Linked DNA regions of Homo sapiens: regions 1, 3 and 4 are each linked to region 2. Evidence: promoter capture Hi-C in 16 types of primary human blood cells and fetal thymus (Javierre and others, 2016). All regions are on one chromosome and are shown on one strand. The core of a region is centred on a gene start or on the middle of the fragment in contact, and the rest is flanking DNA. Distances in the headings are between cores, read along the strand shown. Region 1 overlaps CSTPP1 (centriolar satellite-associated tubulin polyglutamylase complex regulator 1). Region 2 holds the start of LRP4 (LDL receptor related protein 4). Region 3 holds the start of F2 (coagulation factor II, thrombin). Region 4 holds the start of LOC124902671 (a long non-coding RNA gene).

Region 1 (6,131 bases), core at 2,703-5,202, 160 kb after region 2:
ATTCTGAACCTTGCTTATTGTAGGTGCTTGATAAATACTGGGTGAATAAAATAATGAATGCCTGCTGGGTCGTGCTTACTTATATAGTCCACTACCAATCAGTTCAGCCTGTCTTGGAAGGAGCACTTCAAATTTCAATTTAACCATCAGATAAAGATAGAAAATAGGATTTCCACTACAAACTTTAAAAACTGTATTAAAAAGGCCAAAACCCCAGTTAAACTGTAAGACAGCTGCTCTCTTTCTGCTGCCAGGAAATAGAGAAAACCCTCCAAGGACTATTTGCTGTTTGTTTGTGCATCATATAATAAACATGCTGTGACTTGGGGAGAGCACACACTTCCCCTGCAGGCAAGCTTGGGTTTGGGAAGTTGCATGTAGCAGCAGTGAGGAAGAAATCCCCCACTCTGTGGGAGAGGTTCCTTCACGGACTCCACTAAGCCCATTTGCAGTTTTGCTGAGTTATTTACTAAGATGAAGGGACTGGGTGTGGCTGGTCTGAGATTCCTCCTGGGAAGTCACTTCAAGAATCTCCTTAATTTCCTCACCCTTCATCTTTGTTCTCTGGCTTTGGTGCAAGGGTGCAGTCAGTCGCACCCAGTTGGCTGCTGTTCCCAGCACACTGAATTATTTGAAGCTGGCTGTGGCAGCCAAGGATTCCCTGTTCTGTTCTTTTCCCCTTGCCCTGATTTGAAAAACGGTCTGGAAATTCTCATCTGGCATGACCAGAAGGAACTTAGTAGGTTGCAAGCTGTTTTTCTAGATGCACAGGACCAAACAGAACCTTTAAAGCTGTAAATTACCATTTCTCAAAAACTCAATTTGATGGATTTTACATGGACAAATTATATAACGTAGGCTTTACCATCACCACTATCGTTTAAACAAGAGGCCATCCAATTGAGATGAAACCGATATAGGAAAGTAATTATCATCAGCTTTGTCACTTGAAGAAGGAATGTGAGGATATATTAGCTAATTGAAACCTCAGGAAAGATGTATAACAAAACATATAAGGATTAATGAGTAGTCCACAAAAGTGTTTACCAGATGACCAATATCTTTTAAAATATATAGATGTATTCCAGCTCTTTTAATTAGAAAATATATATATATACACACACACATATATGGATAAAAAATGAACTTATAATTACAATAGATGTGATGACAAAATAATTCATAGTCTGAAAAATATATAATTTCAGTGATCAGAGCCTTATGTATTATGCTAATTGTCCAATAATTTCTTGAAAGTATGTTTCTACTTTTAAAGTAAAATTAAATTCAGAAAGCAATGATGAGCAAATATGTGATAATATTCTAGGCAGACACTGAACATTTATATTTATTGTGAGAACAGCATGATGGTAGAGTACTATTTATATAAAATTATGTATCTTTATGTCTTTATATGTTTACATGCATACAAAAATATTTGGAAGGAGGTTTACTGAAATGTTGTGAATGATTTTCTCTTAGTGTTGAGACTACTTTTTTCTTCACACATTTTTATATTGTCTGAGTTTTTATAATGAGCATATAACATTTTTATAATCATAGTAAAAATAAAGCTATTTTTATAGCTTTCATATAGGAAAATTTTGCTTGAGCATCTGCTATGTGTCCAAAGTGGTACTAGAAATTATGAGATATAGGAAAGAAGGCTGTGGCCTGGCTACCAAGATGCTTACAATCTAGCTGGGAAGACAACTAGGGAGTGGGATCCTATAGAATGTAATCCGGTGTCGGGATGTATGGTTCAAAAAGGTGCTACGGAGCATCAGGAAGAGGAGAGGAAGCTCTCAATGGAAGGAAGCTTTCATCGAAAATGAAGATTAGGCTGGGTGCAGTGACTCATGCCTGTAATCCGAGCACTTTGGGGGGCCAGGGTAGGAGGGTTGCTTGAGCCCAGGAGTTCAAAACCAACTTGAGCAACATAGTGAGACCCTGTATTTTTTTGAGAAATATTTTAAAACTTAGAAAGAAAGAAAAGGAAGCTTAGATTGGACCTTGAAAGATGGACAAAAATTGAATAGGAGGGAGAGAAGAAGGCATTTTAGGCAGCATGAGCGCTAAAGTGATAATAATAATGCTTTTTGAAAAGAAAGGAGGAAACCAGCTTGTCTAGAATAAAAAGTAAATATGATTTGTGATGGAGAAGTTTGCTTTATTGCTAAGTTTATTTCATAAGATATCTTTGATATATTACAAACTATATTTTTGTATACTTGAGCAGGTCCTAGAAAAATATTTTGTAATTATTCTGAATATTGACTCTAAAGTGATGTAAAAACTATGACTACTATGAAAAATTCATTATTTTAGTGTATTGAGGGTAGAAGATTTCAGTACATATGCTGTGTAACACTGTCATCTCTGTGCACAAGCTTGTTCTCAAGTCAAACAGTGGCTTTTCATATAGTCTTTTAATTTGTGGTTAATATGTTCCTACACCTTTCTTCTTCTATTAAAAAAATCAAATTAGCCGAACGTGGTGGTGCACACCTGTAATCCCAGCTACTTGGGAGGCTCAGGCGGGAGAATCTCTTGAACTCGGGAGGCAGTGGTTGCAGTGAGCTGAGATTGCGCCACTGCACTCCAGCCTGGGCAACAGTCTCAACAACAACAACAACAAATCAAAAAGCACCAGTTGCCATGGCTCATGCCTATAGTCCTAGCACTTTGGGAGGCAAACATGGGAGGATTGCTTGAGCCCAAGAATTTGAGACCAGCCTGGGCAACACAATGAGACCAACATCTCTACAAAAATAAGAAAAACTCACCAGGCATAGTGGCTCACGCCTCTGGCCCAGCTACTTGGGAGGCTGAGGTGGGAAGATTCCTTGAGCTCAGGAGGTTGAGGCTGCAGTGAGCTGTGATCATGCCACTGCATTTCAGCCTGGGCAACAGAGCAAGATCCTGTCTCAGAAAAAAAAAAAAAAAAAAAACAGAAAAAAAAAAATCAAAACTAAGGTTGGGGAAGGGGGGAAATTTTCTTTTAAAAAAGACATTAAGATGGAGACTTTTCAAACAATGGAATCAGAATTCACTTTTAGCAGTTACTTAGTTAACAGGACTATATTCTGTTTGTAGTGTATACCCTAAATGCTGTAGCCATGTAAGTGATAATTACAATGTATACAAGTCTTCCTGAGAACCATATATTTGAAATTTTAAGTACAAAATGTCAGCCATAAAGTTTTCCTTATTGAATTTGTGTATTATTAAGTGCTTTCAATGTTCAAAGCTCTATGCCAGATGAAAGATATACAGGGAGCTCCCTCATTCATCGATTCGTTTATTCAACAGTATTTTTTTAGTGTGTCCTCTGTGCCAGGTATTATTCTAGGTGCTGGTACTAAAAGAATAAGGAGAATATAGTTCTATTTTTAAAGAGTTCACAGTCTCGTCTGAAAGAAAATGGACATGTAAATAGTTATAGACCCTCTAGAAAGTGTCAGGCCAAATACATGTGTTTATTTGCTGTCTCTGTAGAGCACACTAAAATTGTAATACGTCAGGTGTGGTGGCTTATGCCTGTAATCCCAGGACTTTGGGGAGGCCAAGGCAGGAAGATCACTTGAGGTCAGGAGTTCGAGACCAGCTTGGCCAACATGGTGAAACCCCATATCTACTAAAACTACAAAAATTAGCCAGGTGTGATGGCAGATGTCTGTAGTCCCAGCTACTTGGGACTTGAGGCAGGAGAATCGGTTGAACCCAGGAGACAGAGGCTGCAGTGAGCCGAGATCGCAGCACTGCACTTCAGCTTGGGCAACAGTGCAAGACCTTGCCTCAAAAAATAAATAAATAAAATAAAATAAAAGTATAATAAAGAGGGAGAAAAGATGTAAAGGCACAAGAACAAAACAAAGGAAGACATGACAGGAAATAATAGATATCCACCAAATTTTAGACGGTGGACAGCAGAAGCATAAGTAAAAACTGATTTGGTAAAGAAAACTGATGTATAACTACTTGCAAAAGGAAAAAGGTATGTTTGTGCCATAGAGGCCTAAAAGGGTTCAAGAATTGGAGGTGGGTTCAAGAATTGGAGGTGTCGGCCAGGCGTGGTGGCCTCACGCCTGTAATTCCAGCACTTTGGGAGGCAGAGGCAGACAGATCACCTGAGGTCAGGAGCTTGCGACCAGCCTGGCCAGGGTGGTTAAGCCCCGTCTCTACAAAAATACAAAAATTAGCTCAGCATGATGGCAGGTGCCTGTAATCCCAGCTACTCAGGAGGCTGAGGCAGGTGAATCTCTTGAACCTGAGAGGTGGAGGTTGCTGGGTTGCTGTGAGCTGATATTGCGCCACTGTACTCCAGGCCTGGGTGACAGAGCGAGATTCATTCTCAAAAAAAAAAAAAAAAAAAAAAAAAAGAATTGGAGGTGTCAAGTACTCTGAAACTGGGAGTGAGAGGGGAGCTGAAAATAAGAGGATATATTGAAAATCATTATGAGGAGCAATTAGATCCCCAGATCCCTCCCCCAACTTCAAGCATCAAGGTCACTACCCTTCATTCCATAGAAGACTGGAGATATTAAACTAGAGGAGCTCTTGACTCAGGAGCACCAGACACAGAGCGTAGGTGAGATGCCCTAGTGAAAAAAGATTGTCAATGTCTATCTGCTAAATGTTGACATTTATTTTCCAGCTCCCTTCCCTTGCTTAGCTGTCAGAATGCTGGCTTCCAAATGAATATACCCCAGGTGGGATTCTGGAATATTTTCTGGAGAAACTGAAATAGCCTCAGAGGAAGTCCCTACAAATCTGACATTTAGGAGTTGCACAATGAAATGACCAGGTTTCCGCCCATTCATTCTACAGTGAAGCTCAATATAAACAAGCTCCAATTCATTCAGATAACCAGTTTTTTAGTACCTCGCACCAAATAGGAATGAACATATTCAGGTATTCAAGGATCACCAGAAATTTGGGGGAAGTCTCTAATATGATAGCCAGAAGCCAAAACAAAACAAAATAGAGGCCAGGCATGGTGGCTCACACCTATAATCCCAGCACTTTGGGAGGCCGAGGAGGGCAGATCACCTGAGGTCAGGAGTTCAAGACCAGCCTGGCTAACATGGCAAAACCCCGTCTCTACTAAAAATATAAAAATCAGCTGGCCATGGTGCCTGTAATCCCAGCTACTCGGGAGACTGAGGCACAAGAATTGCTTGAACCCAGTAGGCAGATGTTGCAGTGAGCCAAGATGGTGCCACTGCACTGCAGCCTGGGTGATGGAGCAAGACTCTGTCTCCAAAAAAAAAAAAGGAACAAGAAAGAGTTCTTAGAAAGTAAACATTGTAATAGCTGAAAGAAAAATTCAGTAGATGGGTTGAAAGATCAAGAAATTACCCAGCAAAGGCAAAGAAGTAGAAAACAGGAGGAAAAAAAAAAAAAAAGAAAACTGAAGGCCCAGTCCAGGAGTATAAGACCTAAAAATTTGAAGTTCTAGAAAGAGAAATTGGAAGAACTAGAATGCCATCAGGCTTCTCAACAGCAACATGAGAAGCTTAAAAAAAAAAAAAGTGCAATGCTTTTAGAATTCTAAGAGAAAATTATTTTCAACCTAGAATTCTGTACCAAACCGAACTATCAATCAACTGTGAGGATAAAGTTGTTTTTTTTTTTTTTTCTTTTTAGACAGAGTCTTGCTCTTGTCGCCCAGGCTGGAGTTCAGTGGCCCAAACTCGGCTCACTGCAACCTCCGCCTCCTGGGTTCAAGCGATTCTCCTGCCTCAGCCTCCCAAGCAGCTGAGATTAGAGGCACCCGCCACCACACCCAGCTAATTTTTTGTATTTTTAGTAGAGACGGGTTTCACCTTGTTGGTCGGGCTGGTCTCGAACTCCTGACCTCAGGTGATCTGCCCACCTCGGCCTCCCAAAGTGCTAGGATTACAGGTGTGAGCCACTACACCCAGCCGAGGATAAAGATTTTTAGATGGGCAGGGTTTCATAAACTTTAACTTTTATGCAGCCTTTCTCATGAAACTACTGAAGAGTATGTTTTATCAAAAAGTGAGAATAAGTTTAGGAAGATGAAATTATGAGATCTAGCATCAAGGGGTGCAACACAGGAGAGAAAGAAAGAGAATTCTTAGAATGATAATGGAAGGTAGTTGCAG
Region 2 (5,322 bases), core at 1,895-4,394:
TGAAAATCACTCAGGGCTATTACCAGCCATCAAGTTTCCTTCCAAAATCTTTAAGGTTGGAGAGTTATGTGGGCTGAGTCCAAACCAATAGGCTCTAGGAAAAGCCCCAAGGACTAGCAGCATCCAAATAAGCACCTTAAACTTTATTTATTTATTAAGATAGAGTCTCACTCTGTCGCCCCGGCTAGAGTGCAGGGGAGTGATCTTGGCTCATTGCAACTTCTGCCTCCCAGGTTCAAGCAATTCTCCTGCCTCATCCATTCGAGTAGCTGGGACTACAGGCATGTGCCACTGTGCCTGGCTAATTTTTGTATTTTTAGTAGAGATGGGGTTTTGCCATGTTGGCCAGGCTGGTCTTGAACTCCTGACCTGAAGTGATCCGCTAGTCTCAGCCTCCCAAAATCACCTTAAACTTTAGTGTCTTTAATTCATGCCTTGCTGAGGTCAGGTCTGCCTAATGGATCTACTACTACATTTATCACAACTGCTGTCTCCCTGAGCCCCTGGAATTGAGTGTCAGTCCAAAAGATGTTTTGGTGGTATTTTTGGTTGTGCTGGTTCCAGGCTCTGAAACTGCTCAATCTTACTGGTGAACTGTGAATCTGACCCCCCAGACCTCCAAGGATGGCTCAGTATCAGGCCAGGTGATGTGTATACCTTCACCCCACTGCCTACCCTTACAAACATGTGCACAGAAAGCTTCCCATGCTTAGACGTTTCTATTAAACTTTTTTCCTTAAAAAGAAACCTGGGCCGGACACAGTGGCTCACACCTGTAATACCAGCACTTTGGGAGGCCGAGGCAGGTGGATCACTTGAGCCCAGGAGTTGGAGACTAGCCTTGGCAACATGGTGAAACCCCATCTCTAGAAAAAAAAACAAAAATTTGTAGGGTATGGTGGTGCATGCCTGTAGTCCCAGTTACTCAGGAGGCTGAGATGACAAGATCACTTGAGCTTGGGAGGTCGAGGCTGTAGTGAGCTATGATTGCCCCACTGCATTCCAGCCTGGGCAACAGAGTGAGACACCCTCTCCAAGAAAAAAAAGAGAAAGAAACCTAAAAGCGTTACCGCGAATCCTCCCATTCTTTTTCTGTGAAACATTAGACATACGCAATTCTCTCCCCCCATTCTCACCCCCATCCTCTATGCACATGTAATATTTGCAGCGTTGACAGCTCTGGAGCAGTAAAATCTTCTTGGCCAGTCTCAGCCCGGAACCTTCCAGCTCCCCCTTCCCTAGGGCAGAAGGCGACAATCTCCTCTCTGGCTTTGTTGGTATCCGTTTTAACCCTAATTTTTTTTTTTTTTCCCAGTGCCTTGCCATTTCCCTTGATCTTTTTCAAAACTTCCTCCAGGGGGCTGAGAGGAAAGTTCCATCCCCTTTCCTTGCAACCCGAAGGGGGAAACCCCCCAAAAAGCAAAGCTGTCCCTTTAAGGGGCCCATGTGGTGGGAAGAACAGCTACATTCCTACCCCAGTAGGGCCGCTGTCCCAACACGCCAAAGAGGCTACAAATAACCTTCCAGGAGAGAGCCGGGGAGGGGAGAGCGCAGAGCGGAGCGGAACGTGGGCCGGCCAAGCTACCGCTCTTCGGAGAGAAAGAGCTCAGTCCGCGCTAGAGAGGACGCGGAAAAAAGCCCCTGAAAACCCACAGGTAGTTTAAATAAGAGACATGAAAACTCTGTTTTGGATTTGGGAGGTAAACCAATCTTTAAAACGAGTGCCTAGACATCTCCACGCCCTGCCAGGCAAGTTCGGAAATCTGCACTGACTTTTTCCACACGAGCTGTCCTACGTGAAAGAAAGAACCGGTAAAAGACCAGGCAGGGTCTCCAGACCCCTCCATTCTGAGCCCCAGCTCCCTTCATCGGGGCTGCGAGGCAAATGGGGAGACTCGGAACTCCCGCCACGATGAATAGCGATGGGTGAATAGGGCTGGGGTTCAAAGATCAAAGTTCTTTGATCTCTGGGCACAAACTAGGGAAAGCTGCTCAATCACGGGGTGCACCCAGGGTCGTTAAGAGCCCGCGGAGAAGCAGATTCCATCGGAGCCCTAGTCCCACACAACAGGGGGTACGGGCACCAAGGAGTCCTGCTGCAGCCGTCCAGCTCCCCCGAGGGCTGGGACCCTGCCGCGAGGGCCCGGCGGCTGCCTTCTGGGGTTCAGGGTTACCGGCCCCCTGCCCCCCTACCCCAGCCAGGGCAGATCTGCGGGAGCCTTCCAGCAGTTTCTTCCCTATATTCCTCCTCAGCCCCCTTTCCAACCACCTCCCTTTAGGACGATCCAGGGCTGGAAGCTGACTGGCCGCAGCCAAGAGAGGGACCCCGAAACACCGCCGAGGGGAGATGCTGCCCGCAAACAGTGCCCCAGAGCCCCTTGGTGGGAGCAAGACCTGGAGTCCGGGAATCGTTCTCCGAGTAGAGGAATCCCGGTGCCCAAGTACCAGATTCTACCGGGGCCTCTCTCCGCAACCCGCCCGAGCCCCCAGCCCCAGGAAGGAGGGCTATTTACAATTTATGGGTTTAGCGACCCTCCTCACCCGCCTCCCTTTCTTCGCACGCATTCATTCGCACCAAGGACACAGAGCCCCCGACCTAACCTGAAAGGGAAGCAGCCCCCGCTCTTGAAAGAGCAGCGAGGGAGGGCGAGCGAACGAACGCCCCGGACCTTACCCGCGCCCCGGCCCAGACCCGCGCCCCGGCCCAGACCCGAACCCGCGGAAGCGCCTCCGCTGATGCCCCCGCTCGGACTGCTGGAGCCGGGGCCGCTCCGGGTCCTCTCCCCTGCACGCAGCCCCAGGGCCACGGCTAGGAGCGAGGGCGAGGGGTCTCAGGCCCCGGCCCGCGCCGTCCAGGTCCCGGGAGGCGAGTCCTGCAGCGGCCGGACCCAGGGACAAACTTTCCCGGCGGGCGCCGCTTACCGTGTGCGCAGAGCAGGGCGCCAAGCAGCAGCGCGCCCCACTGCCGCCTCATGGTGCCGCCCGCGCCGCTCGCCCGGGGTCCCGCCGGCTCCCGCCGGACGGCGCGGCGGAGAAGCCCGCGGAGGGTCCCCGAGGGGGAAGCGTCCCGGGTGCACGGCGGCCTGCGCGCCCCGCAAGTCGCCCTCGGGCCGCCGCCGCCTCCAGTGCTGCCAGAGCCGACGCTGCCCCGCCAGGGGACCGGGAGGGGGTGTCCCGGGCCCGACCGCCCCGCCCCCCGCGCCGCAGCCCCGGCCACCGCCACCGCGCCTGGGCCCGCCCCCAGCGCCGGCCCGGCCCCTTCCCGCCCTCGGCCCCGGCTCCCTGGTCCCCCGACCCCACCCGCCGGCGCCTCCTGCGCGGGGCCCCGCTCCTCCTCAGGCCGCCCCCACATTCCTGGCCCGAGAGAGAGCCCCCTCCCTGTCGCTATTACTACTGCTTAAATTTCCCTAACTTAAAAAAAAAAAATTATCCTAGCAGCAAGTCTCGCCCCCGCTCACTCCAGCTCTATGCTTCAGACGAGCACCTGAGCTGACCCAAGTCGCCTGGACGTGACCCTGCCCCCGCCTACCGGCCCCAAGTCCAGACTTTTTTGATGTCTGCGAATACGCAAGGCTTGTGGATGCATAATCCTCTTGGGTCTTTATTGACATCAAACAAGGGACATCAGGGGGCCTGGAGTGCTGTATCTTAACTGGCGTTCTCACTGTCAAAATTCCTTTTCGGAGATTTTCTTCTCCCTGGCCTCCCCCGGTCTAGGCAGCGTTGTTCTAGGGCTAAATAATTCACCGACCCCCCCGCCCCTTTTCATTCACTCATTTCCTGAGATGGTTGTCTGGGTCCTGTTGCTCCAGCTCAGAGGCCCAGATTCGGCCCATACAGACTTAGTTCCTCCTTGCTGTCTTTGTAAATCACTGTTGTTAGCCTCTTCACCTTCTTTGACTTTCTGATCCTGACAAGGAAGGGAGGGGGTCAGGAAAGGAGTCCTCATGGGCAGCTGCACTCCCACAAAGCCCTCAGCCTCCTTCCAGCCCCAGTCTGTAGGTCCTTCCCTCAGATTTAACTTTTGATTTACTGCATAAAATCATAAACTTGTCTCTAGTCTTCCTTCCTTTTGTGGTCTACTCTCCCTAATGCATATTAATAATACGGATTAATTTCACCACCTTCCATTTTTCCAGGTTGAATCTTGTTTTGTTCCTTTTGCCCAAATGCCCAACTTTCTGATGGCCCAGTATATCGCTTTTTTCCCTCCCAGCTGATATGCCAGCATTTCTTGGGCTTGGATCATCTATGGATTTCATTAACTCACTTTCCTCACCAGTAAATAGAGTCAGGAAGACCCAAATGCCCCCTGTTAGCTGAGGGGAAAGTAATTTGGCATAGTGCAAAGTGGTTATTAGATTTCTCTAAATGGATACATTGACATTTCATCCTTGCTTGTTTTTTTCAGTACTTTCACTTCAAATTACCATCTTTTACCAAAGCTAACATGAACCATACTTTGCGACAGCAACAACAACAACATAAAAGATGTAAGGTGTTAACTCCTTGTTAGGCAGTAGTTTTCTATATCGTTTTGCCTGAAATTTTTATCCAGATGCAATGTGGTTGAACTAGCATCACCATGGTAACTATTACTGAAGCATTTTCTGGGTGTGTAGTTCTTCTTGCTGACTGAAGGCGGCAGTAGCGTCAGGTCAGGCTTACATGATCTTGGGGCTAGGCAAGACTGTCAACATTTCTGGCCTCGATCAGTTACCACAGCCTAAAATCCAAGGAGGAAAAAACGTCAAAAGTAGAGGCTGATTCCCCAGCATCCTCCTTCCCACCTCTCATTTCCTAATGCAGGTTTGGTTGGTCTCAGGGTTTCATATATGTTGCTTATGAAGACTTGCTCTTTTTTTTTCTTTTTTGAGACGGAGTTTCACTCTTGTTGCCCAGGCTGGAGTGCAATGGCGCCATCTCAGCTCACTGCAACCTCGGCCTCCCGGGTTCAAGCGATTCTCCTGCCTCAGCCTCCCGAGTAGGGTAGCTGGGATTACAGGCATGCGCCATCACGTCCGGCTAATGTATTTTTCGTAGACGGAGTTTCTCCATGTTGGTCAGGCTGGTCTCGAACTCCTGACCTCAGGTGATCCACCCGCCTCGGCCTCCCAAAGTGCTGGGATTATAGGCGTGAGCCACTCTGCCTGGCCGAAGACTTGCTTTTAAATCTGTTGGGAATGACCTTGGGATTCTGGAGACCATATTTTTTTCCAGCTGAAAACTAGGGACTTGTGGTAGAGCCAGTACAGTTGTCCCAAAGAAATCCAGGATAGGCAGTCCCCATACTTTCAATGTCAGGGGATTAAGAAGTTATAA
Region 3 (5,665 bases), core at 805-3,304, 200 kb before region 2:
TCCCCACTTTGGGAGGCTAAAGTGGGCAGATCACCTGAGGTCAGGAGTTCACGTCCAGCCTGGGCAACATGGTGAAACTCTGTCTCTACAAAAATACAAAAATTAGCCAGGCATGATGGCGGGTGCCTGTAGTTCCAGCTATTCGGGAGGCTGAGGCAGGAGAATCGCTTGAACCTAGGAGGTAGAGGTTGCAGTGAGCCGAGTTCACGCTATTGCACTCCAGCCTCCATCTCAAAAACAAAACAACAAAAACCCAAAATATATATTATAATTTTATTTTATTTATTCAATTTTATTTTATTTTATTTTATTTTTCTAGGAACAGGTCTCATTCAGGCCAGGCATGGTGGCTCACGCCTGTAATCCCAGCACTTGGGAGGCCGAGGTGGAGGTGGGCGGATCACCTGAGGTCAGGAGTTCGAGACCATCCTGGTCAATGTGGCGAAACCCCATCTCTACTAAAAATACAAAAATTAGCCAGGTGTGGTGGCACACGCCTGTAATTCCAGCTACTTGGGATACTGAGTCAGGAGAATCACTTGAACAGGGAGATGGAAATTGCAGTGAGCCGAGATTGTTCCACTGCACTCCAGCCTGGGTGACAGGGCGAGACTCCGTCTCAAAAAAAAAAAAAAAAAAGAAAGAAAGAAAGAAAGAAAGAAACAGGATCTTACTCTGTTACCCAGGCTGGAGTACAGTGGTGCAATCATAGCTCACTGCAGCCTGGAACTCCTGGGCTCAAGTGATCCTCCTGCCTCAGCCTCCTCAGTAGCTCAGACTGCAGGCATGCACCACCATTCCCAGCTAATTTTTAATTTTTTTTTGGTAGAGATGAGGGTCTTGCTATGTTGCCCAGGCTGGTCTCAAACTCCTGGCCTCAAGCGATCCTGCCATGTCGGCCTCCCAAAGTGTTGGGATTACAAGTGTGAGCCACTATGCCTGGCCTAAAAATATATATATGAAAATATATAAGAAATGGGCCTCCCAGGAATTAAGGTGTTTGCGGGAGTCCTGGTCCCCAGTTTTTCTGCCAACACTCCCTGTTCCCACACATGACCTGGTCCAGACCCCAAACAGCCAGGCCCAAAGGACAGGTGAGGCGAGGCGAGAACTTGTGCCTCCCCGTGTTCCTGCTCTTTGTCCCTCTGTCCTACTTAGACTAATATTTGCCTTGGGTACTGCAAACAGGAAATGGGGGAGGGACAGGAGTAGGGCGGAGGGTAGGGTAGGACCAGAAGCCTCTCTAGGCCTGCCATGGGGCAGGCAGCCAGGGAGAAGGAGGGCCCCTCAGTGGAGACCCAGGGATTTCAGTAGCCCCTGTTCCGGGACAGGCGCAGGTCCTGGGAGGTGACAGAAGATAGACTAAAGGCCCAAGAGTCCCTGGACCTGACTCCTCCCAGGCAGCTGCCACACACAAACACACCTCCAGGCACCCTGGACAGGAAGGAGGAGAAATGGGCCCCTCCTCCAGTGGCTGAGAAGCTGGGGCAAATGTTGGCTGTTCCTATCCCTGGTGCATCCCATGGCGAGGGGCAACTTCCATCAGGCCACACCTTTTATCTTTGTCTCTATTTTTGATATCTGTGTATTATGATTATACAAACCCCCACATTGGCCTATATGTGCAGATCTGATTAAGAACTTACGATATTCCATGGACATTCCATTCCTAATCTCCTTTAGTCCTCACAACAAAGTATTATTCCCATTGTATAGATGAGGAAACTGAGGCACACAGAGATGACAAGCAACCACCGCTATATGTTAGGATTCGAAGGAGCTCCAGGAAAGTCTCATAGCCCCACTGGCCAGAATGGGCTAAATCTCAGAGGGGGAGGGTGGGAGATGGGGGTGACAGTGACCTTTTTTGTGACTCCTCCTAGACCATCCATCCCTGCTCCCAGGAGGACCTGTCCTCCCAGATGGTGGAGATGGACAGGAGGACTATCTACCCACCCGTCCCCACGGCCCTGACCCTCTGACCTCACCCTCTCCGCTGATTTCTTCATGTTAGTTCAACATTAACCCAGAGGGGTCAGGACAGACAATTCCTCAGTGACCCAGGAGCTGACACACTATGGCGCACGTCCGAGGCTTGCAGCTGCCTGGCTGCCTGGCCCTGGCTGCCCTGTGTAGCCTTGTGCACAGCCAGCATGGTAAGGGAGTGCTTGCAGGCTGGAACAGGCTGGAGGACTGGGGTGTGGGCCCATGGGCTGGGGTCTCCTGGCTGGACAGAGCACACAGAGCTGGCCCCTAAGTAGGTCTCAGCCCCAGGCGGCCAGCTTAGGGAAGAAGTCAGGAGCTCAGGGCTGGAAAGAGAATGGCTGCTTCTCTCTTCCAATATAGGGAGCAGGCTGGGGGCAAGGGGCAGTGTAGGAGGGGCACAGGGGGCCACATTTAGCAGCCTTCCAGGCACTTCCACCAGCCCAGACAGCCTCTCTCAGAAGCCAGCAGGGGAGGGTGGGCTTGCTTCATGCCCCCAGAATGGCCAAGACTGCCTGTTCCTGAGGCCGCTGTCCCATGACCCCCCCACCGCCTTACAGTGTTCCTGGCTCCTCAGCAAGCACGGTCGCTGCTCCAGCGGGTCCGGCGAGCCAACACCTTCTTGGAGGAGGTGCGCAAGGGCAACCTGGAGCGAGAGTGCGTGGAGGAGACGTGCAGCTACGAGGAGGCCTTCGAGGCTCTGGAGTCCTCCACGGCTACGGTGAGCCTGGGCTGCTCGGACGGTGCCGGGGCCTCAGACCGGGCCCAACTCTAGACACTTCCACAGAGAAGCAAGCGAGGAACGCCACAGCCCCTTCGCTGCTCACAGCCTCATTTCAACTCTGAGCCCCTCCTCACAGGGCTGGCAAGAGGAGCGGCCTCAGCCTTTCCTGGGGGTCTCTGTGCCTGGACTGTGTCCCTGTGCAGCTCCATGACATGGGGAGGCCTCCACAGTCTTCAGACATCCACCTGCCCTGGAGCTCTGTGTCCACATGGCCTCCTCAGCGGCAGACTCCCACACCACCCTTGAGGGGTGGGACTCTGGGGAGGCCACCACAAGCCCCCGGGCTCAAGACTCAGTGTTCCTGGAGCTCTGTGTCGCCTTTCCTGTCTGTAGGGCTCTGCCAGGGTCCCACTGCCCCCTCTCCTCCCATCTCCCCCAGCCTCTTTCAGTCTCGGTGTGTGTGTTGGAGGAACTCCCCTATCCTCAAATATTCTTCTCCTTTTGGAAACAAAAGTAGGAAACTCTGCCACAAACCTCCCCAGAGCCTGCCCCCTGCGTGACCAGGGTAAAGGAAAGTGTGAGGAGGAGACATAACATTTACTAAAACAACACAAAACAGGAGCTGCCGTAGCCTCACTCCCAGCCCTTGTTTTTCAGGATGTGTTCTGGGCCAAGTACACAGGTGAGCACCGGGAAGGATTTGCCCCAGGAAGGGAGGCCTGGGGACCCCAGTGAGAGAATTCTACCCAGAGAATCTTCTGCTGCACCTAGCCATCCACCCATCCACCCCTTCCCCACTCCTTCCTTGGTCCCTCCCATCTGTTCATCCATCTTTCTGTTTCTCACCAACATCCCATCCACCCTGACTCCAGCTCATCCTGGCCATACCCCAATCCCAAAGGTAAACACCTGGGTCTTTTCCAGCTTGTGAGACAGCGAGGACGCCTCGAGATAAGCTTGCTGCATGTCTGGAAGGTGAGCAACTGACACGGGTTTGGGGAGCAGGACATGGAGGGGAGCCTGGGAGAAGAGCTCAGGGGTGGGTTTGGAGTGTGGCTGGTGGAGGCCGAGGCAGTCCCCAGCATCTGACATTGCTCCCATTCCTGGGGTCAAGATGTCTCTTTGTACCTGGCTCTGTGTCTGGCATGCGAACGAATGAATGAATGAATGGACTAATGAATTAATGTTTTTTTTTTTGAGACAGAGTCTCGCTCTGTTGCCCAGGCTGGAGTGCAGTGGCACGATCTTGGCTCACTGTAAACTCCGCCTCCCGGGTTCAAGCAATTCTCTGCCTCAACCTCCCAAGTAGCTGGGATTACAGGTGCTCGCCACCACGCCTGGCTAATTTTTGTATTTTTAGTAGAGACGGGGTTTCACCATGTTGGCCAGGCTGGTCTTGAACTCCTGACCTCGTGATCCACCCACCTCGGCCTCAAAGTGCTGGGATTATAGAAGTGAGCCACCGCGCCTGGCCATGAATTCATGTTTAAGGCTTCATTCTCCTTTGCCTGACCCGAGTCTCTGCCCCCACCTAGTCAGAGCTTTGATGATGTCACATTCCCCTTCTAGCTTTAGGTGTCACTGAACCAAACAGGAACCCAAACCCCCAGCTGCTCTGACACCAAGGACTTCCCTAAGCATGCCAAGGTGTTTCTAGCACCTGGCCTTGCATATGTTGTCAATTTCCTCTGGAGCGACCATCACATCTACTGAACACTTTCCTATCCTTCAAGGACTGCTTCAAATGTCACCACTTTTGCTGAGACTTCAGGGAGCACCCTCCCTCCTGCACTGTGTTCTGAAGGCACCTTTAGCACGACAAAAATGGAACTCTTTGTTTATTTATAAGAGACAGGGTCTCCCTTTTTTGCCCAGGCTGATCTTGAACTCCTGGGCTCAGGCAATTCTCCCATCTCAGTCTCCCAAAGGAGTAGGATTATAAGTGTGAGCCACCATGCCTGGCTGCCATACTTTCATTTTTTTTTTTTTTTTTTTGAGGTGGAGTCTCACTCTGTCGCCTAGGCTGGAGTGCAGCAGCGCGATCTCGGCTCGCTGCAACCTCCGCCTAGCGGATTCAAGTGATTCTCCTGCCTTAGCCTCCTGAGTAGCTGGGATTACAGGCACACACTACCATGCCCAGCTAATTTTTTGTATTTTTTAGTAGAGACGGGGTTTCACCATGTTGGCCAGGCTGGTCACAAACTCCTGACCTCAGGTGATCCACCAGCCTCAGCCTCCCAGAGTGCTGGGATTACAGGTGTAATCCACTGCGCCCAGCCTCATTTGTTAAATTACGTACTCAACAGACATTTTACAAAGTTCCTGCTACGTGCCAGGCACTATATCAGGTGCTGGGGATTTTAAGAGAATCAAATACAGTCTCTGCCTTCAAGGAATTCAAAATCTCAAAAGAGAACAAAAATACAAAATATTAAAATGATTGCGGCCGGGTGTGGTGGCTCAAGCCTGTAATCCTAGCACTTTGGGAGCTGAGGTGGGCGCCCAGGCCAGGGGTTTGAGACCATCCTGGCCAACATAGTGAAACCCCCAACCTCTACTAAAAATACAAAAATTAGCTGGGGTGTGGTGGCACGCGCCTGTAATCCTAGCTACTAGGGAGGCTGATGGGGGAGAATTTCTTGAATCTGGGAGGCAGAGGTTGCAGTGAGCTGAGATCATGCCACTGCACTTCAGTCTCGGCAACAGAACAAGACTCATCTCAAAATACATAAATAAAAATAAATAATTCAATAAAGTGATTGCAAGAAAAGTTCTGTTCAAGGCACCAAGAGACCACAGGAAAATGAGTGTCTGGTTTGCCAGAAAAATGAGAGATGGCTTCCCAGGAGAGGCAGAGTTCTGCCTGGCCTGGTGGGATGCATGGATGAACAAACAAGTGGGCATTCCAGTCAGAAGAAACAATCCGTGGAAAGACCCAGAGGCATGAGAAGCTGAGCT
Region 4 (5,920 bases), core at 261-2,760, 220 kb after region 2:
TGAAATAAGTCTTACCACTTATAGTTCTCTCAATACCCACTGTACAACAGCTGAGGAGTGTCTCGAAGTAGCAGAAATCATCTGCCCTTGACATTATCTGGTCACTACTTCAGTAGAATTAGAACTCCTCTCTCCACATCCCAACACAGAGTCTGCATGGAAGAATAATAATAACAACTAATAGAACTACTCTCTCCACAATTAAAAGTTGTTTATTTGCTTGCATTTTCATTAATCTCTTTATCTGACTACTGTCCTCACTTAACATTTAGAAGAGTCAAGTTCCAGAAGTGGTGAGCAGGATGTATTCTGTTTTTCATATTTTTAAGAGCTTTTGTTGTGTTAGAGAAGCACGCAGTGATTTTTGTAAATCATTCTTCTGTCCTTGGAAGCAAGTACTTGAAGTACATGAGTTAGAATAATATCAAAAACCTGAAGAGGGCCTAGGGTCTAGAAACCAGGAAGCTAATGTTGACTCCTAGCATTGTCTTTCTTAATTAAGTAACTCTCTCTCTCTCTCTCTCTCATTTTTTCATTTTCCTTCATTCTGTTATCTTCCCAAGGATATTTTGTAGGTAATTTGGGGGATAAATGTAAGTTCCTATGAAACACTCTGACTCTCCCTAAGAATGCTATCAGATATATCCACCAAAGTTTAGCCTAGAAAAGCACGATGATTCAAAGATAGAACTTTCCTTTATTTACTCCCTGCCCTGCCAGAAATCACTCTTCTCTTTTCTCTACATGGGGAGTTCTGGAGTGAGAATAAAGTGGGAACACATTAGACTCAGTGGATTTTCTCCCTTCCCTTCGCCTTTTTCCTCACCCCAAGCCTGAGACCACGAGTGGCAATGACTCCCTCCCTTGAAGAACAAGACCTCCTGCCAGGCTGTGCCCGAGGTCAGGCAAGTGGGAAGAGGAGAGTGCCACAAAACCATCTTGATCCTTTGACCTATATTGACGCTGAGTCTGTTCCTTTGGTGTTTCTGACTTTGGCAGTGTGGTTAGTCAAACTCTCTGTCCCCACCTTGAATTAAGCTTTGATGAAAAAGTACTAGGAACCCAGGCCTTTCCCTGGAGATTTGGGGTTTTTGTCTTGGAAAAGCATCAACCAAACTAACGGGGGCAGGAGATCTGGATTCCTGTGGCTTGGGCTAACTTAGGTCCAAAGAAACCAAGTGCCTGTGATCATCATCTTCATTCCCCAAATGTAGCCATGCCCTCTGGATTCCCTCCTCTCACTCATCCTCCTCCCAATTAGGCAGGCTTCCGGGTGGATTGCTCTCACTTTAGCATTACCAGGCCCTTCCATATTCGAAATGCTTTGATATATGATAATACTTACACATTCTTACTCCTTGGCTGATCTAAAATCTTTTGCCTTCAGTACATGCAGCAACAAAATAACTTAAGCATCAGTGTATTTCTTCTCCCTCAGGATCCTATAAATTTCTCTGAGATTCACCTCTCTGGGTTCTCTGCTGGACCACAGAGCCTCATCCTGGCTCACCTCTCCCAAAGCACAAAGCATTGCTTCTGTATATCAGGAATCATTTGGTTGCCTTGACTGTATATCTTGGACCTTTGTCTTGGCTTCCTATAATAGGATGACCAGATTTGTGTTCAGCCATTCAAAAGAAGCCAGCCTGCTGCAGTACTGGATGACAGAGTAATGAGGTCTGTGGGTTTCTATGCTGTACTCTTCTCCCTACACAGCAAGACTGTTTGCGTTAGTACTGCTTCCAGATATTCTGTGGATGGTCTTTGGGCATGTGGTGGGAAACGTTACCATGCCAGAGAATTTCAGCAAATTTAACCGGCTTTGAAATGACTTGTTCTTCCAGATTTTTATATACAAGGAAAACCAAACTAAAGAAGACTGATGAAGGTGCCTCTCTTGTTTGCTCTCTTCACCCGACCAATTTTCATACCAGTGAAGCTCCTTTGGTCAAAATGGTGTAACTGGATGCCTCCCACCCTGGAAAAGCTTTGTAGAAATACTGATCTTAAAATCTCACACCTGGAGGTTAGAGACTAGCATACCCTTCACACTGACTTGCTTTTAAAAGAACAGCTCTACCAAGACCAGGTCTGAAACTCATGAAATGAACAAAAAGAGGGCAGTGACTTGAAATGCAGAGACCTAATGTGTTCCTCTCCATTTCCACTTCAGATTTGCTGACCATGAAAGAATATCACTGTTTGCTGCAATTACTGTGTCCTGATTTCCCGCTGGAGCTCACTCAGAAAGCAGCCAGGTACGTCTCCTGGACTCTTGAAACCAACTCAGCTCTCTGTGGGCCACTGCTTCCTAGAGAAACCTGGAGTGTATACAAATGAAAAAAAGGAGCATTTAGGGAAGAAACTGGCAGTGGGAGAGGGGTCTATTTGGGATGTGCCCCAAAACATAATACATTCTGCATTTCCAAAGGGAAGCGAAATGATCCTTTGTGGTTTCTGTGGGGAGCCTCAGGGTCTGAAGATAGAGTTGGAGGGTGGTGAGATGAAGAGGCAGAAAAAGCCCAGACCCCTCCAATACCCCCACACACACACACCCTAGAGGATATTCTGAGAAAAGAGGGGCTGCATTTGTGTGTTTTCACGCTACTGTAAAGATACTACCCAAGACTGGGTAATTTATGAAGAAAAGAGGATTAATTGACTCACAGTTCCGCGTGGCCTCAGGAAACTTACAATCGTGGTGGAAGGCAAAGGGGAAGCAAGGACCTTTTTCACATGGTGGTAGGAGAGAGAAGTACAGACAGGGGAAATGTCAGACGCTTATAAAACCATCAAATGTCTTCAGAACTCACTCACTATCACAAGAACAGCATGGGGGAAACTGCCCATGTGATCCAATCACCTTCCACCAGGTCTCCCTCTCAACACCTGGGGATTACAATTCGGGTTGAGATTTAGGTGGGAACACAAAGCCTAACCATATCAGGGGGCAAGGGTTGGCAGTGACTTGTGATGAAGAGAGTTGAGGTTGGGGACTGGAAGGGCATAAAGGTGATAAAGCCCCAGTTGAAGGAAAGGCACATTATATTATTTATGCCAGAAGAAGGTTTTCAAGATCAGTCCAGAACCAGGACTTGGCAGAAATAGTTAGAAGCCCCTAATTTCTGTGTTGGGTTTCACCATCATTCACAATTTTTAACCACATGAGGTAATTGGACTATGCCTCAGTTAACTTTTACTTACTTAACTCAAAACCTGAGCTAGGCCAGACACGGTGGCTCACGCCTGTAATCCCAGCAGTTTGGGAGGCCAAGGCAGGCAGATCCCCTGAAGCCAGGTATTCAAGACCAGCCTGGCCTACATGGCGAAACTCCATCTCTACTAAAAATACAAAAAATTAACCAGGCACGGTTGCGCTTGCCTGTAGTCCCAGCTATTCGGGAGGTGGAGGCAAGAGAATTCGCTTGAACCTGGGAGGCGGAGGTTGCAGTGAGCAGAGATCGTGCCATTGCACTCCAGCCTGGGCGACAGAGCAAGACTCCGTCTCAAAAAAAAAAAAAAAAAAAAAAAAAAAAAAAAACCTGAGCTAGGGTTGCAAATGGACGTACAGCAAAAATCATGTTTATCGAAGAATGCCTACCTTCCCTATATCATACTGAATGCATTTACCTTCATTGTTCTATTTAAATTTGTTTACCTTAACTATCTCACCTAATCCTTGTAAAAACTGTTACTTCCCTTTAAAATGATCCTTTGTGGTTTCTGTGGGGAGCCTCCGGCTCTGAAGACAGAGTTGGAGGGTGGTGAGAGTATTAGGCAAACAACAAAACACACACACAAATACATACCCACACTCCCACACACACCCCTAGAGGATATTCTGAGAAAAGAGGAGGCAAGGGTTGGCAGTGACTTGTGATGAAGAGGGTTGCGGTTGGAGACCAGAAGGGCCTGAAAGCAGCTGGGCGTGGTAGCTCATGCCTGTAATCCCAGCACTTTGGGAGGCCGAGGTGGATGGATCACCTGAGGTCAGGAGTTCGAGACCAACCTGACCAACATGGTGAAACCCTGTCTCTGCTAAAAATACAACAATTAGCCTGGCGTGGTGGCAGGCACCTGTAATCCCAGCTACTTGGGAGGCTGAGGCAGGAGAATCACTTGAACCTGGGAGGCAGAGGTTGCAGTGAGCCGATTGTGCCACTGCACTCCAGCATGGGGGACAGAGTGAGACTGAACGTCAAAAAAAAAAAAAAAGGGAGCATGAAAGTGATGAACCCCAGTTGAGGGAAGGGTACTGTTACTGCTCACTTCACTGAAGTGGGAACTGAGGCTCAGACGGGTGACAATGTTGTGCGAATATACTGATAGCTTGTAAGTAGCAGTGGCAGAACTGGAACCGCAGTCAGCCTGAATCCAGAGATGGGGGATCGGGAGCACAAGGAGTCTCTTCATGCTCCCACCTCCCTGTGTCATGGCATCATTTCTGCTTTGTGGTTTGACCCACTGAAAACAAAGCTGCATTGGCTGCACTGCACCAAGAATCACCTCGCTCCTTTTGAAATGTGCCAACCAGCTCCTCTATTGACTTGGAAGATGGGAACTCCATTGCTCCCAGTGACAGACACCAGCCTCACGGTGGGGCACGGTGTTTTGCAGCTAACAGCTCATGACCTACTTTTGCTGGTCATGTGCAAAACCTGTTTAGTGATCACACATGCAAAATTTTGTAGGTTTTTTTCTCCCTCATTATTCAGTGGATAATTTTCTTTCCTGATGGCAACTGGCCACTGGTAAAAGCCGCAGTTCAGGTTTTATAATTTTAATTTATCTGCTATCCAAAGGAGATTTGGATATTTTTTTTCTTCACTGAAAAAAAAAAAGTATGGGAGATTATCTCTTGTAATTTAAAAGCAGCCAAATGGAGTTAGCTTTAAATTTCCATGATCGTTCCCCTTTGGGCAGAAATCATTTTATTAAAAACATTTTTGTTTGTTTGTTTGTTTTCTTTGAGACAGAATCTCACTCTGTAGCCCAGGCTGGAGGGCAGTGGTGCAATCTTGGCTGACTGCAGCCTTCACCCCGCCTCTCCCTGGGTTCAAGTGATTCTCCTGCCTCAGCCTCCTGAGTAGCTGGGATTATAGGTGTGCACACCATGCCCGGCTAATTTTTTTTTTTTTTGTATTTTTGGTAGAGACGGGGTTTCACCATGTTGCCCAGGCTGGTCTCAAATTCCTGACCTCAAAAGATCTGCCCACCTAGGCCTTCTAAAGTGCCTGGGATTACAGGCATGAGCCACCACAGCCAGCCTGGGCCCAGATTGTTTTAAGGAATATTCAGCCCCAAAATCTGGGGAGATAAACTCAGCATCCTTAAAGACCGAACTTAAGGCCGGGCACGGTGGCTCACGCCTGTAATCCCAGCACTTTGGGAGGCCAAGGCAGGCGGATCACGAGGTCAGGAGATGGAGACCATCCTGGCTATCATGGTGAAACCCCATCTCTACTAAAAATACAAAAAAATTAGCCGGGCGTGTTGGCGGGTGCCTGTAGTACCAGCTACTCAGGAGGCTGAGGCAGGAGAATGGTGTGAACCTGCAACAACTATATCCTATATTCATTTGTTCATTTGTTTATTCATCAAATGTTTCTTTTTAACAGCTTTTTGGGATACAATTCACATACCATACACTTCACTCATTTAAAGTATAAAATTCAATTGCTTTTAATATATTTCCAGAGTTGTGCATCCATTACCACAGTCCATTGTAGAATGTTTTCATTACCCTAAAAAGAAATCCTACACCCCTTAGCCATTACTCTTCAGTCCCCACTCCACCGTCTTCCCCAACCCTAGGCAACCCCTAATCTACTTTCTGGCTCTGTAGATTTATCCACTGGGCATTTCAAATAAGTAGAATTGAGGCCAGGCACAGTGGCTCATGCCTGTAATCCCAACACTT

What was found. Contacts are between HindIII fragments. The CHiCAGO score rates a contact against its expected background, and 5 or more counts as called.
Region 1: a fragment that was not itself captured here is called in contact with the fragment with the promoter of LRP4 in region 2 in 1 of 17 cell types (M1 macrophages); the score reaches 5.2 in M1 macrophages.
Region 3: a contact is called between the fragment with the promoter of F2 here and the fragment with the promoter of LRP4 in region 2, in 1 of 17 cell types (M2 macrophages). The highest score is 5.0, in M2 macrophages.
Region 4: a contact is called between a fragment that was not itself captured here and the fragment with the promoter of LRP4 in region 2, in 6 of 17 cell types (M1 macrophages, M0 macrophages, megakaryocytes and 3 more). The highest score is 11.1, in M1 macrophages.

Annotation. Positions count from the first base shown.
Region 1 is chr11:47,071,571-47,077,701 of GRCh38, forward strand. The region is part of intron 3 of CSTPP1 (centriolar satellite-associated tubulin polyglutamylase complex regulator 1); the gene reads left to right. Among named protein-coding and RNA genes, the nearest start is that of ARFGAP2, 100 kb to the right of the region's middle. The HindIII fragment of the contact is 3,128 bases long and covers 2,389-5,516 here.
Region 2 is chr11:46,915,406-46,920,727 of GRCh38, forward strand. LRP4 (LDL receptor related protein 4) reads right to left here and starts at 3,145. Exons shown (of 38, transcript NM_002334.4): 1 at 2,923-3,145. The coding sequence starts at 2,974. RefSeq lists enhancers at 1,335-2,206, 3,370-3,874, 4,569-5,070, 5,071-5,322 and silencers at 2,710-2,879, 2,890-3,069, 3,080-3,309. The HindIII fragment of the contact is 10,743 bases long and covers 698-5,322 here.
Region 3 is chr11:46,717,159-46,722,823 of GRCh38, forward strand. It overlaps F2 (coagulation factor II, thrombin), which reads left to right and starts at 2,055. Exons shown (of 14, transcript NM_000506.5): 1 at 2,055-2,156; 2 at 2,544-2,704; 3 at 3,365-3,389; 4 at 3,632-3,682. The coding sequence starts at 2,078. The HindIII fragment of the contact is 4,700 bases long and covers 1-3,661 here.
Region 4 is chr11:47,135,472-47,141,391 of GRCh38, forward strand. It overlaps CSTPP1 (centriolar satellite-associated tubulin polyglutamylase complex regulator 1), which reads left to right. Exons shown (of 9, transcript NM_024113.5): 4 at 2,174-2,258. LOC124902671 (a long non-coding RNA gene) reads right to left here and starts at 1,405. Exons shown (of 2, transcript XR_007062666.1): 1 at 1,346-1,405. The HindIII fragment of the contact is 949 bases long and covers 1,037-1,985 here.